3 separate regions of the Homo sapiens genome follow, and regions 1 and 3 are each linked to region 2. Evidence: promoter capture Hi-C in 16 types of primary human blood cells and fetal thymus (Javierre and others, 2016). All regions are on one chromosome and are shown on one strand. The core of a region is centred on a gene start or on the middle of the fragment in contact, and the rest is flanking DNA. Distances in the headings are between cores, read along the strand shown.

The links. Contacts are between HindIII fragments. The CHiCAGO score rates a contact against its expected background, and 5 or more counts as called.
Region 1: a contact is called between a fragment that was not itself captured here and the fragment with the promoter of TSPAN13 in region 2, in 1 of 17 cell types (naive B cells). The highest score is 6.7, in naive B cells.
Region 3: a fragment that was not itself captured here is called in contact with the fragment with the promoter of TSPAN13 in region 2 in 1 of 17 cell types (total B cells); the score reaches 5.1 in total B cells.

The regions. Positions count from the first base shown.
Region 1 is chr7:16,890,711-16,895,024 of GRCh38, forward strand. No RefSeq gene overlaps it. Among named protein-coding and RNA genes, the nearest start is that of AGR3, 11 kb to the left of the region's middle. RefSeq lists a silencer at 655-949. The HindIII fragment of the contact is 706 bases long and covers 1,199-1,904 here.
Region 2 is chr7:16,752,367-16,756,215 of GRCh38, forward strand. TSPAN13 (tetraspanin 13) reads left to right here and starts at 1,389. Exons shown (of 6, transcript NM_014399.4): 1 at 1,389-1,664. The coding sequence starts at 1,602. The HindIII fragment of the contact is 13,671 bases long and covers 1-2,833 here.
Region 3 is chr7:16,929,021-16,933,105 of GRCh38, forward strand. No RefSeq gene overlaps it. Among named protein-coding and RNA genes, the nearest start is that of AGR3, 49 kb to the left of the region's middle. RefSeq lists an enhancer at 384-433. The HindIII fragment of the contact is 1,598 bases long and covers 759-2,356 here.

The DNA of each region.
Region 1 (4,314 bases), core at 302-2,801, 140 kb after region 2:
CTGATTTCAATCCCACCTTTTGTGATACTTCCTCTAACATTGTTGTCATTGCCTTAACAATTGTCATGACTTGTTAGTTATGCGAGGAGAAGTGATCATGGGGCCATTTGCCCTGAGCATCCAGCCTCCAGTGGTCCTTCTATTCTGGGGCTAGGATGTCTGGGTTCCAATCCTGCTCAGTAGCCACCATGACCACAGAGAAATTACTAATGCAAATAGAAATGTTGATAATATTTATCGCACAGAAGTGTTGTAATGATGAAATGTGAGAGAACATGAAAAGTGACAGAAAGCAGGCAGTACCTTCCCAAACATGTGGGCCTACCCTAGAGCAGGCTCTTTGGTAGTTAATGAAGATAAGACAGCAAATACAAAGGTCAAGTTGCTCCCTTTTTTGGAAGAGAAAATAAATGAGTATTTAAAAAATGATAGTTGATGAGTTCCCAATAAATATTAGCTTCTCTTATTTATTATATAACTATTATTCAAGTGAGCCCACTAAGCCCAGGAACTAGTGAGAAAACTCTCTTAGCAATAAGATGGACTGATGTATTAGGTATTTTCCCAAAACATGATTTTTTAGAGGGTAGACTTCTCTCAAGAGGAGAAGGAGCCAGTTTTGAAAATTCATGATTCAAGTACTAATTGCATTTCAATTTAAACAAGTTTAATTCAGTTTTGTTCATGTTTTACTTGGCCCAACAAATTATCCTAGTGAGCTGTCTGTCTGCCGAGGAGGTGGGTTTACAACCTGAAGAGTCAATTTGGAAACTGAACAGGAGCTGAGCTGAGCTACTCTCTGACTCTGACATTAGATGTCACTACAATCAAAGGAAAGCAGAGCGGGCAACCTAGCAGTGAAGTGAAACTTGAACATGGTAGAGGAAAGAGACATGTTTAGATTGTGGTGCAAAGTTCCTGGATAAGAACTTGTGATATGATTTGCCTATCCACCTTGCCATGGGGAAAAAGGAGAATTTTAATATATGTATGACAGCTGCATTCATTTTCCTAAGACATTGACTAGGAACAACTCCTAACCACTTTGCACATCTTGGTATTTCTTCCCCTAATAGATAATAGAACTGATAGAGGCCCCCAAGGATTTTCAGTGCAGAATATTCCTAATAGGTTCTAAACGAGAATTTTACTGGACCAGATCACTAAGTCTAGTTCTTCTAATGAGCTTAATGCTTAAAGCTTAAGTTGTCTTTCAAATATTCTTCAATTATAAACTTTATCAGGTGTTTCCAAAGTTTCTTTGCTTAAAGATGTGAAGAACCCCAGGTTACTGGTATTTGTGTGTTAAGAGTAGAATTACCAGGTACAGTCACATTTGTTTACTTAAGCAAAATATCTACAAACAGCTGGAGGGCAGGGGACCCAACTAATGTTTCCATTTATTGCTAGGCAACTGGGTGAACTGAAAAGTCCATCCTCCCAAGGGATATTATATTAAATATATCTTTTTATGTGTGTGAACTGGCACACACTATTGGAATAGATTCAGAATATCTAACAATTGATGCAGCATAGGTACCAATGAATTAAATCTAGCGATGGCTAGGGCTTCCAGGGGAAAATAAGGGTGCTCCATATGGGTGTAGGGAGGACCTGATGGGGAACAACTGCTGCAGTACCTATTTATCAACTCCTGAGGGAAGTACTTTGACATATTAATAACTGGGATGACTGTACCAGTATCTATTGGTTGAATATCAGCCTGTGTATATATAACTTGGCTTATCAAGAGCCCACAAGATCTCTGGTTTAGGTTCCAAGTACAAGTATCAAAGTTCATTCTCATTACCCTCTTGATAATGGTCTGGGCTGCTAATTTTTACATTGCTTTAGTGATGGGAAGGTCCCACATGGAGGGAAATTTTATGAAATATGCAGAGAGAAGCTTGGTCTTTACATGTCTACATCTTCTTTTTTCAAGCTGTGATGAAGGCCTTGATTCTGATGGGCATCAAGAGGCAGATACAGCTCAGAAGATTCAGAAAGGCAGACTCGTGTCTAACATAACTACATTACCTTGGTGATCCCAGGAATTAGTAGACTGATACTGGGGATAGGAGTGGGGTTCTCAGTATTGGTGACAAAGTTTGTTTTAAAGTGTCCTGATTTTTTTCCTTTGCTCTACATGAGAATTAATGCACCAGTTTGCAATATATGTAAACTGTTTCATGTAGATTTGTTGAAGAAGAAAGACTGGATTTCAAGGGCCTAAGAGCAGGCAGTTTTCATGTTCAAGGTGTTTTCACATCGTATGCAGTGCTTAGATTACTGAGCCCATAGTAGTTACCTAATTCTTATTTGATACTTGATTGATATTTTTGTTTTCTGTAGATTATTCTCATTGAGAAGAAACGGACCTATGACTGATTTCAGACCAGTGATTTTGGTAATGTTTTGAATTTACTGTAATTATTTAAGCTGTTCTTCTGAATACTTGTACCATTTTCTTGGTGATTCAGAACGAAACTTACAGCTAAATTATCTGGGTTATATTAATCTTTGCATGCATTAAAACTGCTGTTTTTATAATGGAAAGAAAGAGGACTACTACCTATGTATATCTCAATGTGTCTGTGCCACGCTGTTTTAATTATGCCAAGTGTTCACTGACAAAAGTGTGAATGGAGCATACAATTTAAAAATATGAACATGTTATTAATATTTGGCACTATAACTGTAACAATCACTGATTATCATCATGATTGGGGACCTTGTCTCACCAATACCAGAGACATATTGATGTCACGATGAACTGTATTTTTCTACTATTATGTGAAATTACTTTCTTTTAATTCCACTATTTCTCATTGTTTGGCCACTTTTACTTAGGGGTTTTCTCTCTATTTCATTGTTACATGTATTTTTTTTTGTTCAAATGTCTTAAAAATTCCAATTCTTAAGGTTGATTCCATTGTACATCTTTGAATTTCACAGTGTATAGTTAGATTGTAGTCTTGTCAAGATGAGAAATTACCATGATGCCATGATAGCTTCTAACAATGCTACTGTTTCAGAAGTCAGGATCCAAGGTCTCATAGACCAAATTAAGACCTCAAACTATGTGGCTTATTGAGTCAGAACACAGTGAGAAGCAAAGGACAAAGAGTAATGTAACTTGGATGGGATGCAAATGAGAAGGAGGGACTACAATACTTAAATCTAGAGCTGCATACTATCCATATATCCTGCCCCTTTCCACTTCATTAGTATTCCCTGTTAATGGTAGGCAAATGATGACTGAGTGCACATGGGAAAGGAGGCTCGGCAGAAAGAAGGTGCTCAAAGTCACCTTGGTATATCTGAGAGACCACAGGGCAAAATGACCAGTAGCTATTTTTATATAGCAATGACTTTTGTCTGTATGGGGCAGAAAACATGAGGAGCCAGAATGAGTGTCAACAACAGGTGACTGACTTAACTATGATGTTACTGAAGGTGGCATGATTTGAATCTAGAAAAATATACAAATATATATATATATACACACACACTTACACATATATACTTTTACATCTTTAATGATATTTAATTTGAATAAAATGCATTCATTTAAAATTACATTTCTAAGACTTTTGAAGAAAGTCTTATGTAACTTCTAGCACAATTAAGATACAGAATATTTTCATCAGTTTCCAAAATTTCCTTGTGCCACTTTGTAGTCAATGGCCCACCCTAAACCCTAGACAACCACTATTCTTTCTGTCTGTATAGATTAATTTTGTCTTTTCTAAATAAAATTATATAGAATGCGGTCTTTCGTGTTTAGCTTCTTATGCTAACCACATTTTTGAGATTCATCCATGTTATGTCTTGTATTGGTAGTTCATTCCTTGTTATTGCCGAGTGTTATTCCACTATATAAACAGATCTCAATTTCTTTAGCCACTCACCTATTTTTTTTCTGATTTTTTTCTTTTCTACTTTTTTAACTTTTATTTTAAGTGCAGGGTTATGTGTGGAGGTTTGTTACATAGGTAAACTTGTGTCATGGGGGTTTGTTGAACTGATTATTTCATCACCCAGGTATTAAGCCTAGTACGACTTAGTTATTTTTTCCTCTCCTCTCCCTTCTCCCATCCTCCACCCTCCAATAGGCCCCAGTTTATGCTGTTCCCCTCTGTGTGTCCATGTGTTCTCATCATTTAGTTCCCACTTAGAAGTGAGAACATGTAGTATTTGGTTTTCTGTTCCTGTGTTAGTTTGCTAAAGATAAAGGCCTCCAGCTCCATCTATGGCCCTGCAAAGGACATAGTCTCATTCTTTTTAGTGGCTGCATAGTATTTCATGGTATAT
Region 2 (3,849 bases), core at 139-2,638:
TATTTTAATCAGCTGCAATGTTTAATTTAATTTAATACAATTTAGCATTTGCAATTACATAATTTACTCCGTATGAACCTTTAGGTTAGATATAGTATTGTAAACTTGCAAATCTCTTTATAAAACCTTTTTCTTTGGTAGAAACTACTATGAAGTAAATAAACCTTTATTGCCTTCGCTTAGTGCCTGGAACACAGTAGGCCTTTACAAAATGTCAGATCTATGAATACTAGCTGACATTTATTGAGGCCTTCCCCTGTGCCAGCCACTATGCAAAAAGTGCTTGACATACTTCTAAAATCTCAATTTATAGGTGAGGAATTAAGGATACAAGATGCATTTCTATAGTAGAGAAGCAGTAAACTGATAATGAATTAATTGAGGTGAAGTCTGAGTTATTTGAAGATTTTCAGTTATTTTTGTGAAAAAATAAGTTTATTGAAATTCACGACCAGAACACAAAAATAATCTCTCTTGATTTTCTTTTTAAAATTTTTTAAAAAACTTTTGTTGACACGTAGCAGATGTATATATTTACGGGGTACATGAGATGTTTTGATACAGGCATGCAATGTGAAATAAGCACATCACGGAGAATAGGGTATCCATCCTCTGAAACATTTATCCTTTGAGTTACAAACAATCCAATTACATTCTTTAAGTTATTTTAAAATACACAATTAAGTTCTTATTAACGATTGTCACTTTATTGTGCTATCAAATAGTAGGTCTTATTCATTCTTTCTATTTTTTTGGACCTATTAACCATCCCCACCTTCTCCCGCTCTTGATTTTCCTTTGCATGCATGTATTCATAAAGTTTATTAGTATTTTGCAAATCTTTGTAGGATAAGTCTGACCTGTCCAGGTCACAATTATAGGGCACATATCTTATTTTCTGAGAGAAGCAGGGATTTTATTTTATTTTTTATTGTTTCACTTATTTTCTCCCTTTCATTTGCCTCTACTTCGTTCTCTTTTAAATCTTTCACATGTTTTCATTCATTACTTGCTTCCTGCCTTCCTTCCCTCAAACAAGGCCAGGTGCTTAGTTTTGAAATCTCATTCAAAATGGTGCCACGTCATCTGCCAGGGCCAAGAATCCAGAGGTGCTGTCATATTTCTCCTTGCCAGCGTGGATCTCCTCCGAGCCCCGCCCTCCCTCCTCACCTGCTCCTGGGGAAACTACACCAAGGCCGCCGCTCTGGCCTGGGGCTCCCTCCCACACGGCCTTGGCCCTCTCCCCCTCGCCCCGGGACCGCTCCGCCCCTCCCGGATCCCGGTCGGCGGAGCGCATTTATTTGCATATTTCTACCTTTGTTCCCTGCCAGCGGCCAATCAGCGCGCGGGGCGAGACGAAGGGGCTGGGCGGGGCTCGGGCTCCTGCTCCGGCTCAGCTGCGGCGGCCGCAGGTTCCAAAGCGGGTCCGAGCCGCCGCCGCGCGCGCGCCGCGCACTGCAGCCCCAGGCCCCGGCCCCCCACCCACGTCTGCGTTGCTGCCCCGCCTGGGCCAGGCCCCAAAGGCAAGGACAAAGCAGCTGTCAGGGAACCTCCGCCGGAGTCGAATTTACGTGCAGCTGCCGGCAACCACAGGTTCCAAGATGGTTTGCGGGGGCTTCGCGTGTTCCAAGAACTGCCTGTGCGCCCTCAACCTGCTTTACACCGTGAGTATCCCCAGTCCGTTCCTGCTCGCTTGGGGGCTTTGCACCTGCTTGGGAGCTCTTTGGCTTCCCTGCCTGGTCAGCGACTCACTCGTTGCATCCCGCGCCCCCTTCCCGGCTTCCCACGTCTGCGCGCCCCCGGCCTCACCATCCGTCCCCGCCGGGGACCGGGCGCCGGCGCTTGTCGCAGTCTCTTCCTTTCGTTCATTGTGAAGCCGCGGTCTCTCAGGCTCGCTGGCCGCGTCTCTGCCACATTGCTCCACCCCGCCCCCTCACCCACCGCCTTGTTTTTCAAACATTCAACCGGACCTCTCCGCTTTCCCACCCCGTACCCTTCTGCCGCTCGCTCCTGACATCCAGACGCATCTGGGCCAGGCGTGGAGGCGCGAGAGCCGTCAGGGCTTGCGGACAGTTTTGCGGAATGGCGTGGCCTGAAACTGACGAGGCGGCATATGGCTGGTGTGCCTCTGGGTTAGCTCTTGGTACCCTCGGGATTTTAATTGAGGCCACTGAGTAGGTTCACAGGATGTCCGCTGCTTCCGAAGTTTGTTTCGTGCTCACAGTAAAGGGATGTCTTTTTGTTTTTGTTGTTGTCAGTTTTGCTAGTACTTGGTGCTTTTTCTGTGTGTCTTGTCCATGATCAATATCCTAACTCCATTTTAAACCAAGTCCTCCAGGAAATAAGCGAGCCCCCACCCAAGTCGTTTCTTTCCCTGCCAACCAGCTTGGGCCTCTTAGTTTTAACGCTGCAGGCTCTCTTTGTGATTTTTTGAGGCGCAATTCTGGGTGAACAGGAGGATGGGCAGGACAGATCGACATTTATTGAATGCCTATCACGTCCCAGGTTTTACATACACAATGCTCGTTCATCATTCTGACAACCTTCTGAGGGAATGGGGCATTATCTGCATTTTATACATAAGGTAACAGACCAAAAAGGTTTTAGTAAGTTTACATAGCTGGTAGTTGACGAGTCAGGAGTGGAACCTAGGCTGTGGAATCCAGATCTTTCCACAGGCTGTCTCTACCGGGCGGAAGAAACTTCCTCTTCTGTCATCATCCCTCCATAGTAGTCTTGCTCCCTTCTATAAATATACCTGGCGCTTTGCAGCACCCACCCTGAAAACAAACCCAGCACCCCTGCATTAGCAGAGAGCTAGGCCATCTGTGCAAGCTTAGATTACCTCCTTGGAATAGAGAGGCTGCCTTGTGGTCACCAACAGGAGAAGGAGGTTGGGTCATTTTACCTTTACTGTTCCTTTGTATGTGAACATGACTGCAAGCTTTGAAGGCAAGACAGAAACAGGCATTGAGTACGCTTTTATGGCTAGTTAGTAAGAATCTGGTCAACATGGTCATTAATAGTAGACTTGGGAAAAAAATTTTAGAACACCTGGTGATACAGTTCCTTGGAGATACATGTCAAGTTTCAGATCAAAATTCATCTGTATCACCCTGAGGTATGCTTATCACCCTGGCTGTTTATTAAGTAAATGCTGACCAGTTCTCTAGGGTTTTTTTTTTTTTTTTTAAATCAGTGTGAGTGGCCTGCTTGGAACTTTAAATTCCTTATTTTGTGACCTGAGTTCTGTTTTTTTTCTGCCAATGATTTAGTCATCTGTTTGCCAGACACTTAGTCTTACAGTGCCTGCTTACACAGAGTGGAATGTCTACTTTGCATACTTACTTCACTGAAGGGTCTATATCAATGTATAATCTTTTTTAAAAAGGCAAGTTATTTTAAAATGAAGTTCCTTGCTTTCTAGACATCATTTTTAGTTGTATTTAGAGTATATCAGGAAAGTGAGGCGAAAGAAAGGTGATTCTAAAGGGACATATTAAGACTATTTAATATCTATTCTAAATTATTGACCTTCAAAGTGTGTGTTCTATTGATTTTAATAGCTATGCAGTAAAACTTAATGAATTGGAAATTCACGGGACAATAAAAATGGCTAGCCCTTTTAAATCATAGACTTTTTAGACAAAGGGACATTTCTTAAAATGAATTAGTGGCTGCTTGCTTCTTTTACATTGTAAATAGGCTTAAATAACTGCAGCAGTTTAAAGTGGAGGCAAGTGACAGGTAAAAGTTGGATCAAGTCTTAGATAGATGCTGAAAATGTGCCATGGCCATTATTTAGCTTCTATTTCTCCCCTGATCTCTTTCTCAACATTTTAAGATGAA
Region 3 (4,085 bases), core at 308-2,807, 180 kb after region 2:
TTGATATAAGTAATAAGTTCAGTCACTAGACATCTGTTGAACATCAAACATTTTCCTTTTCATCTTAAAGATATCTTGGCAAGTAAAATATACTTTTCTCTATCAACATTTTAAGGGATACCGCTAGCACCAAACAGATACCATTTCCTTTTACTCTGCAAAGACTGATGGAAGAATAAGAAGACACTTTCTTTGCCCCCTAGAACCTTCAGATCTATTGGTGGGCATTCAGATACCCACAAAAAGAGAGTTAAACATGTTAAGTGGAACACTGAAGGAGCTGAAGAGTCAAAAGAGGAAGTAGGTGCTAAATAGTTCAGAAAAGGAAGCAGTTCACTGGTTCTATTGACCACAGTTTGCCATTCTTGAACAGGGTTGCCAACGTCTAGTGTTTGTATTTTGTTGTCTGACTCTACAAGTTCCAGAACTTCTTTTATAAATGATGTATGGGCATACCTTGGAGATACTGAAGCTTCAGGTCCAGACCAGTGCAATAAGGAAATATAAAAAGTCAGTCACATGAATGTTTTGGCTTCCCAGTGCATATTGTATACACTATATTGTAGTATACTATGACTTCCTCCACTGAAGTCTTGAACCCCTCAAAGGTCATCCATCAAAGTTAGAATCAACTTCTTTCACACTCTTGTTAATGCTGATATTTTGACCTTCTCCCATGAATCATGAATATTCTTAAAGGTGTGAAAATAAAATAAAATATTGGGATGCCATACTCACTATGCCAAAAGGAAAAGTTAAGCTTAGAAACTGAGTCTCCAAAAAAACTGCCTTTCCTTTTGTTCCTGAACCTGCAAGATAGAAGATCACATATCTTCCCAGGTGGCCTTCCTCAGCCTGACAAGGTAAATTAACAGCTTATCTTCACAGGTATGGAACAAAGACAGGTATAGGACAAAGACATATTTGACAGCTTGGCTTCCTTTACTGTTTATTTTTATGTTGTGTAAAATGCCGACTTACTGATGCATAAGACAAATGTTTAATTGACTGCTCCTCTCCCTCCTCCTTTCACATGTAACATGTGGATTCGGTAAACACTTATCAAAGCCTCACAACAATGTGACCGCTTACCTCACTTTATACCCTCCCTTTTTTTTTCTTTCTTCCTTCCCCTTCTGCCTGCTCTTTCCCCTTTAAATATTGAAACCCTCAAAATCCTCTTTATAAAAAGTGTGAACCACAGATCCTATTGTGATTTTGTGTCTTCTCCCAGGTATGTCCTCAACCTTAGCAAAATAAACTTCTAAATTAATTGAGACCTATCTCAGACACTTTGTTTTACAAAGCCATCTAGCATGCTGAATCCTTTCCAGAAGGTGTTCAATTTACTTTGCCCAGATCCTCAGAGAACTCACTATCTATCGAGCTACAGGCTTACAAAATGTATTTCTTAAATAAAACTTGAAAATCAAATGATTCTCTGACGTATGGGCTACAGATAGGATGTTGTGTTTGCAGGCATGAAAACAACATTAACCTCCTCGTGTATCTCCATTAGAGCTCCTGGATAATCAGGTGCATTGTCAACAAGCAGTAATATTTTGAAAAGAATCATCTTTTTCTGAGTGGTAGCTCTCAACAGTGGATTTGAAATATTCAGTAAACCATGTTGTAAACAGATGTGTTGTCATCCAGGCTTTATTTTTCCATTTGTCGGGCACAGGCCGAGTAGATTCGGTATAATTCCCAAGGACTCTAGGATTTTCAGCAGCACAGATGAGCATTGACTTCAAGTCATCAGCTGCTTTCCCTCCTAATAAGAGAGTTGGCCTGTCCTTTGAGGGTTTGAAGCCAGGCATTGACTTCTCTCTAGCTATGAAAGTCCTAGATGACATCTTTTTCCAATATATGGCTGTTTTGTCTGCACTGAAAAACTGTTGTTTAGTGTAGCCACCTTCATCAATTAACCTATCTAGATATACATAACTCGCTGCAGCTTCTCCATCAGCACTTGCTGTTTCACCTTGCTTTTTTATGTTGTGGAAATGGCTTCCTCTCCTTAAAATCTCATGAACCAACATCTGCTAGCTTCAAACTTTGCTTCTGCAGCTGCCTCATCTCTTCGCCTTCACGGAATTGAAGAGTGTTAGGGCCTTGCTCTAGATTAGGCTTTGGCTTAAGAGAATATTGTGGCTGGTTTGATCTTCTATCCACACCACTCAAACTTTCTGCATATCAGCAATAAGGCTGTTTCACTTTCTTATCATTTGTAGATTCACTGAAGTAGCACTTTTAATCTCTTTGAAGAACTTTTCCTTTGCATTCACAACCTGGCTAATGATGCAAAAGGCCTACCTTTCGGCCTATCTTGGTTTTTGATATGCCTTCCTCACTAAGCTTAATGATTTGTAACTTTTGGTTTAAAGTGAGAGATGTGGGACTCTTCCTTCATTTGAATACTCAGAGGTCATTGTAGGGTTATTAATTGGCCTAATTTCAATGTTGTGGTGGCTTGGGGAATAGGGAGGGCCAAAGAGGGCAGAAAGACAGGGAAGTGGCGGTTCAGTAGAACAGTCAGAACACAAGCAATATTTGTTAAGTTTGCTGTCTTATATGGGTGTAGTTTGTGGTGCCCTAAAACAATTACAATAGTAATATGAAGTATTGATCACAGGTCACCATCACAGTTAATAATAACAATAATAAAAGTTTGAAATATTTTGAGAGTTACCAAAATGTAACACAGGGACACAAAGTGAACACCTGCTGTTGGAAAAATGGCACTGATATCCTTGCTCATGTAGAGTTGCCACGTATCTTCAATTTGTAAGAAAACACAGTAGCTTCAGAGCACAATAAAGCAAAGTGCAATAAAACAAGTTATGCCTGTAGTATTACTTTCTTAACTTGCTCTTTAAATACTTTGAAGAATTAATGCCTTTACTATATTTGTTGCTTATGGCATTTTGATTCTTCAGGCTAGTCAAGATCTTTCACCTGAACTATATCCTCTCTTCCGAATATTCTTTCCCAGCATGATGTTCCTATTTGATTCTCACTGTCAGACATAGCTGATATGGCATAGAAACCTCTTTCCGGTTTTTTTCTACCTTTTACCTTCTCTTTTACCTTCATTCCAAGCCCACTGTTGTAGTCCTAAAGGTGCCTTTCCTTCTCCTTTCCTCATTTGAGTATTTTATTTCTGAATCCCATCCTTTATTTTTTCCTAAAAATCTTGATCTAACTGACGTAACTTATTTTACTCTTACTAGAAAGAAACATCATTAAACCCTGTAACTACTAAGAAAGACAAAATTGATTCCTCTTGGAAGTCAATGCATGAAGAAGGAGAAGAAAAGTTTTTGGTGTTTATTTTTATTCTTCAAAAAAACCCCTTGGATTCTTATAGGAATCTCAGTTTTCTGATTGTGACAACATTTTCCAGATCCTTGATATGTATCTTGCACAAGATTTAGAATTTTTTTTTAAAGAACTAGTCAGTAATATGAAAGAAGCAAACATTTTTTACATAAAATTAAAATATTTTCAAAATTTAACTGTATTATGTATACTTAAGATTTAAATAGTAGTATTAACATTTTTAGGCATAGGTTGAGATAGCAAATGAATTAGTTTACTTCTTTAGTTGAGTTTACTTTTCAACATTAGAAATGATCAACATTTCTGGGTTTATAAGTTGGTTATGATTATAAATGCTTGAAACAATATGAAGAATATAATTTATTTTTTATTTAAATAGTACCATTCAGTGCAGAGTGCTTTGAGTGGTTTAGGCCTGTTTGCTTTTAGAGAGAACTTTGCATTTCTCCTGGTATTCTTTGCAGCTGCTTCACTCTTACTAGTGAGAGGATATTTTCAGGCTGAGCTGAATGAACATCTTTTCTTTTTTTTTTTTTTTCCCTGTGTCTTCCAGGCTGGAATGTAGTAGTGCAATCATGGCTCATTGCAGCCTTAATCTCCCGGGCTCAAGTGATCTTCCCACCTCAGCCTCCCAAGTGGCTGGGTCCACAAGTGCATGCCACCACACCCAGCTAATTAATTATTTTATTTTATTTTATTTTTTGGTAGAGACAGGGCTTCTCTATATTGCCCAGGCTGGTTTC